2 separate regions of the Homo sapiens genome follow, and region 2 is linked to region 1. The links are contacts of gene promoters, found by promoter capture Hi-C in blood cells and fetal thymus (Javierre and others, 2016). All regions are on one chromosome and are shown on one strand. Each heading gives the region's core, a stretch centred on a gene start or on the middle of the fragment in contact. The rest is flanking DNA. Distances are from core to core; before and after follow the strand shown.

Evidence for each region. The method cuts DNA at HindIII sites, captures the fragments that hold promoters and counts their contacts. A CHiCAGO score of 5 or more calls a contact.
Region 2: a contact is called between a fragment that was not itself captured here and the fragment with the promoter of RPL6 in region 1, in 2 of 17 cell types (erythroblasts and total CD8 T cells). The highest score is 5.7, in erythroblasts.

What each region holds. Positions count from the first base shown.
Region 1 is chr12:112,408,318-112,411,674 of GRCh38, reverse strand. It overlaps RPL6 (ribosomal protein L6), which reads left to right and starts at 2,070. Exons shown (of 7, transcript NM_000970.6): 1 at 2,070-2,088; 2 at 3,019-3,255; 3 at 3,337-3,357. The coding sequence starts at 3,019. RefSeq lists an enhancer at 2,260-2,439. The HindIII fragment of the contact is 30,731 bases long and covers 1-3,357 here.
Region 2 is chr12:111,867,729-111,870,791 of GRCh38, reverse strand. MAPKAPK5 (MAPK activated protein kinase 5) reads right to left here. Exons shown (of 14, transcript NM_003668.4): 5 at 1,931-2,039; 6 at 432-521. Among named protein-coding and RNA genes, the nearest start is that of MAPKAPK5-AS1, 26 kb to the right of the region's middle. The HindIII fragment of the contact is 1,779 bases long and covers 698-2,476 here.

The DNA.
Region 1 (3,357 bases), core at 821-3,320:
ATTCAACACATATTTTGGGGCGTTCACTAGGTGAAATTATCTGAGATTGCCAGCAATTTTGAGGGGCCCACGTAAGCAACTGTGCATCTCATTCATTCATTGTGGTACATTTTCTGCAGTTGAAGTTTCTAAGAGGTGCTTTGCTGAGGAAGCTAAACAAATAAAGCTGCTGACATTCCCATTCTCAAAAAAAAGGGCAGTGTTCATCTGATCATTGTATTTGTATCCTCAGTGAATCAGAACCAGAAAAAGGCTAAATGATTCCCAGAGACACAGCCATGAAGCAGGTGGTTTCGATCTGAAAAAATCAAGGTGAAAAGCTCTAGCAACCAGAAAGAAACGAATGGAGGAAAATGGAAAACGCAAGCTAGAAGGTATTACAAATGTGTACATGTTGGCTTAAGGGCTTTGAAGCAGTAAAGAACTATCACATATACTGTGTTGTGTATTTTGTAAAAGATAATAAATATTCTTATTTTTAATTCTAACATGAGCAAAACTCTCATGCATCTTCATTAATCATCTCTTTAATCTTGCAGCCTAATGGTTAAGAGTGCAATCTTTGGAATCAGATCTATGCTGTGAGCAAGTTACTTAATGTCCTTGAGACTCAGTTTCCTCATAATAGTATCATTCACAGGTTGTTGGGAGAATTAAATGAAATAAAGCAAGGCACATTGTATGCAATATTGCCTATTATCTCCCATGCATAAACTTTAGCAGAATACTTGACAACAACTAGGATGTTGATGATCAGATGATTGTAGTGGTGATGGTGACAATAACAAGAGCTAACAGTTCGCCAGGTGCGGTGGCTCACGCCTGTAATCCTAGCACTTTGGGAGGCTGAGGCGGGTGGATTACTTGAGGTCAGGAGTTCAAAACCAGCTTGGCCATCATGGTGAAACTCTGTCTCTACTAAAAATACAAAAAATTAGCTGGGCATGGTGGTGTGCGCCTGTAATCCCTGCTACTTGGGAGGCTGAGGCAGGAGAATCACTTGAACCCAGGAGGCAGAGGTTGCCGTGAGCCAAGATCGTGCCACCACACTCCAGCCTGGGTGACAGAGCGAGACTCCATCTCAAAAAAAAAAAAAAAAAAAAAAAAAAAAAAAAAAAAAGAGCTAACACTTATGTAGCATTTACCATCCATCAAATAATCAAATATGCTTCTCAGTACTGTTGTATATATTATTTAATGTTCCCAACATCCTTATGAAGTAAGTTACTATTGTTATCCTCACTTTAATTTTTTTTTACTTTTTTTAAGACAGAGTCTCATTCTGTAGGCCAGGCCGGAGGACGGGAATGAGAAAGGCCATGTACAAGAGGAAGTAGTCAGCCGCTAAATCCAAGGTAAGGGAAGAGGGGACCACTGACCTAATCTCAAGTGACAAGATTAGAGTTCACTGCACTGCAGCCCAGACCTCCAAGACTCAAGTGATCCTCCCGCCTTAGCCTCCCGAATAGCTGGGACTACAGGCACTAACAACCACACTCGGCTAATTTTTTTTCTTTTTTTCTTTTTTTTGTTGTTGTTATTGTTTTGAGACTGAGTCTGGCTCTATTTCCCAGGCTGGAGTGCGGTGGCACGCAGTGGCACGATCTTTGGAGTGCTGGGATTACAGGCGTGAGCCACCGTGTCCGGCCCTTTTTTTTTTTTTTTTCTTTTTTGAGAATCTTGCTCTGTTGCCTAGAGCGCAGTGTCGCGATCTTGGCTCACTGCAATCTCCACCTCCAGATTCAAGTGATTCTCCTGCCTCCGCGCCTCGACTGGCTGTCATTACAGACACGCACCACCCACGCCCGGCTACCTTTTGTATTTTTAGTAGAGACGGGATTTCACCATGTTGGCCAGGCTGGTCTCGAACTGCCAACCTCAGAGGATCCTCCTGCCTCGGCCTCCCAAAGGGCTGGGATTACAGGCGTGAGCCACCGCACCCGGCCTAGGATTTACTACTTTTTTCTTAACGGGGAAATACTACATTCCCCATGATGCCCCAGATCCGGAAGGAAGTGAGACTCGCACTTCCCATGATTGCTTATAGACCGGAAGCCGGGACCTTAATTCTCTTTCCCATCTTGCAAGGTAAGAATCGCGGGCCTGTCTGCAAGACTTGAGTTCAGGACTCCCAATCCTTCGCCATCCGAACCTGGAGGGCATCCAGTCGACACCTACAGGGGTCGGACATGTCCAAGGCTAACTGAGAGGCCTTCCAGACGCTTCATTTTTGTTGTTTGGGTTTGCGGCAGGGCACAAAGAGGGTGAGGTAGAATGCCGTAGTGGCTCCCTCCGGTTCTTCGCCACTCTCTTGGGCTGGGGGAACGAGGCCCTTTCGGGGACCCGTAGCAGACTGGTGGGTGTTAGAGGAAGCGGGGAGACGGCGCGTGCACTGTGTTCCTGGTCCTGGGTTCCAGAGGATGACACTGAGCCTGTCGCAGCCACGTTGGGGTTCCGCACTGAAGCCAAAAGGTTTCGCGTCTCCCAGCGTCCCCGACCGGAAGTCGCCTCTTGGTCTTTGCGATCTTTTTCTCTGGCTCAATTTGGGCTGATTCCGTTTGTGTCCGCAATTCCTAAATCGAGTTTCTTGAAAAGAGACACTGGTCTTAAGGGTTAAGACGAAAGGTACTGAAAGTAAGGGATTTCAAGTTCTGGTCTTGGTGCTTCTAACCTGTGGACACATTCTGCATCTAAGTTTTCTAATTCGCAAAACAGTAATAAAAAATAATGGTTGTACGGACTTCTGACCGCTCAGTATTTGGCAAAAAACCTAATAGGTGTGAGGTAGTTTCAAATTCTCAAAAAAAAAGTTTATAGTGTATTGGGGAGACAAACCCCAAATGAGTCATAGTGAAGGTTGGAGTAGAATGGGTAGAGTTTGAGAGGAAGGCCTGTATCTTACCGGGGGAGGGATTGTAGTCTGGGGAGCCCAGCCCATTCATGTACAGGTTCATTATTGTCTTGTTAGAGAGATGACTGGTGAAATGCCTTTTTTTATCTACAAAAAAATATTTTTAGATGGCGGGTGAAAAAGTTGAGAAGCCAGATACTAAAGAGAAGAAACCCGAAGCCAAGAAGGTTGATGCTGGTGGCAAGGTGAAAAAGGGTAACCTCAAAGCTAAAAAGCCCAAGAAGGGGAAGCCCCATTGCAGCCGCAACCCTGTCCTTGTCAGAGGAATTGGCAGGTATTCCCGATCTGCCATGTATTCCAGAAAGGCCATGTACAAGAGGAAGTACTCAGCCGCTAAATCCAAGGTAAGGGAAGAGGACCACGGACCATTATGTCTTAACCTTAATTGGCATTCTCTTACTGTTGATGCATTTGTGTCCTTGTAGGTTGAAAAGAAAAAGAAGGAG
Region 2 (3,063 bases), core at 338-2,837, 540 kb after region 1:
GCCCATCACCTCTCATCAATCTGGGATGCTACTTCACTTTTAATATCTGCCATAAGCTTCATGATAGACAGAGCAACTTATCTGGTGAGACATGGGGCAGGGGACAGAGCTGAAAGGGAAAACAGCAAATGAAACGAGATAATATATAACAGCATACAGATTCCTGCCCCTTCCCAAAGGTCCTCCAAATAATATCCAAAATCATTAAGTCCCACAAATACATATCAGTATCATCCAAAATTATCAATGCCGGGAGTACAGTAGTACAGCTTCTCTGAGCCTCTAGCAAGGGAACGAGTTGAAGAAATAAGCTGTTTGAAGCACTTTGGCTTAAAGCTTTTTCACCATGAATTCAGAGCGCTCCAAACACACCCACTCCTGAACTATGTTAAGAGTTGCAGCACTAAAATGCAGAAAAACAGTCTTCTCACCAAAGAGTTATCCTTAAAAAGCAGATTTTCAGGCTTGAGGTCTCTGTGCGCAATGTTTAACAAGTGACAGTGCCGCAGAGCCAAAGCTATCTGAAAAAAGACACAATGAAACAGTCGCTTCTTAGAAAAGACCACTCTTTAATACACCTGGCGTAGAGAACTCAGGATGTCAAAAAACAAGCCTTCATTAAGACTGCGTTCACTTTCAATTTTAAAGCAGAAATTAAGAAAAACTTGGAATACCAAGAAACAGAATGGATTAAGCTTAGTTTAACTGCAACTTGTATTTTGTCAGACAGAAAGAAAAATATGATGGTACAGCAATTCTTTGTCAGAATAAACTGATGGGTAAATCCTGTAAGAAATGGGAAAAATGAAATGCTCCCACTTTCATTCATCTGAGGTATGACAGACACTGCAGAAGAAACACCTAAGCTGAGCAATGGTCAGCAGGCGCAGTTCCCACAGCAGGGCTCAGACAAGAATGGCACTCTCCAGGGAGCTGAGGGTCAAGAAATCAGCTGACTGGGTTTTTCCAATTCATACTGGAAACTCATTTTGCTCATCATGCTTGTTGAAAATGTTGCCTGTTTATGTGGATTTGAAGGGGTTTTATTTTATAGAAGATTATCAGAGCTCATCCTTTAATCCTAATATTTGAAAAAATTAAAGGTATAATTTTAAAAATCAAACAGAAAGAACAGATTTTACTTGTTCTTTAACTCTCCATATGGCATTTTCTCAGCAATCCAAGTATCAGTTCCTCCCTACCAGAAAGGAGGCATCCAAAATTGCTTAAGGTTCATGGGAAACTTGGAAGAACTTTTTATTAAGAAGCAATTGGGCTGTGCTTCCTAATTCTCTTTGCTTTGCTTGCCTGGTATGAAGATAAGCCTTGAGGGTTTAGCTTTTCACCTCTGCAAGAAGTGATTATCAGCTGGATTCCTAGTATTGTTTGTGACATAAATCATTTCTACAGCAATAAAATGTGATGTCAACATAGAATATAACCAGGAATAATTCAGAATTACAAAGATCTTAGGATATTATTAAATCTGAAGAAATCACAGAAAGGTGGCTCACATGCAGGAAGCATCTTATGTACAATTCTCTTAAAATACATTTTTATACCATACAATCTTTCAGGTGGTATCAGCAGCATTTTATTGCAAAGTCCAATAACAGTACTTGGTAGCTACATGCCTAAAGATAACTGCAGTCTACAAAGCAGTTAAGATGCCTTCCTTCCAGAGTTTATTGAAATCTCACAGCAGCCTCAGGAAACAGTTGACAACCAATTAAGAACACAGTACCCCCACCCCCAAGTATAAAAGGGGTCACATTTCTCCTGTCAAAACATCTTTTCTGATTACATAACAAAGCAGGCAATGAGAAGTCAAATAGAGCTTTTCTTTAAGTTTTCTTTTCTTCCCCCCAATGAAATTGTGCTTGTTAACCAACTTTGGTGGCAGTTTGATTGGTACCTGGGGTTAACTTGCCTGCTTTGTTACTTGGCTGGCTTGCTTCTCTGTAAAGTGCCGGTGCTGGCTGATTCTGTGAAATAGCTCTCCCCCTTCCATCATCTCCATTACAATTAAGAGTCGGGCCCTGTTTGAAAGCATTTGATTTTGTTAAGTTAAAAAAAAAAAAAAGAAAAAGAAACAAAAAACCCTGAAACATTAAGAAGCTGACCTAAAGATACTGCATCTACAAAGTGTGTAACAACTTCCTAAGTCCAGGGTAACACAGTTACTAAGAGCAAAAATTCTCATGTTCTGAAAAAAAAAATTTTAATGTGATTTTTGGCTACCATTCTTTCATATATGCTTCCAGCTTCCATCCAAATGCTTTCACCAACAGAGCACAGTTGTGAAAAATAAGCGTTTTTTTCCCATTTGTTTGATTTCCCATTTGTTTTTAAAATTCTATCTTCTTTTTCCATCTGGAAAATTCCTACCCTTCCTTCAAGTCCTAGCTTCCACACAGCCTTTGTGAGACACCTCTCCTCCCAGACTATAGTTAGCAGCTCCTCTCCTTTGTAAGCTTAGAATATTTTAGGGATGCCTGTCCTTAGTGCCTATTGCACTGCTATGATGATGGGTTTACATCTCAGTCTTCCCCAAAAAAACCATACCTTATTTAATTTTGAATTTTAACAAAGAGACTTAGAATGCCACCCAATATGCTTGCCAAACATTTGGTAACTAAAAGAATAATGTTGATTTCTTTCTTTAAAAGGAAAGTTAGACTAAGCAATAATAAAGGCTTTTTGTTTTATCAGCCTCTAAGACTCTGCCTAGAATAATATTTGGGCCCCTTTCACTGATTTGAAATAGAATCTGTTTAAATTCTACATTAAATGCTTTCTTGAAATGAGAAAGTAATCAGAATCATCAGGGGATGTGAAGAGTGGTAGGGGCATAGATGAAATTAGACTGGCCACAAGAGGATTACTGTTGAGGATGGATCATGAGAACTTGAGGATTCATTACATAATTCTGTCTGCTTTTACAAATGCTTGACATTTTCCAAATTACAAAAAGGGAGATGGAGGGGGAGAAGGAAGGGCAGAGGAAGCGAGGGTAGGAGGAAGAAGGAGAGGGAAGGGGAGGGAGCACATAAAAGAGAGGAC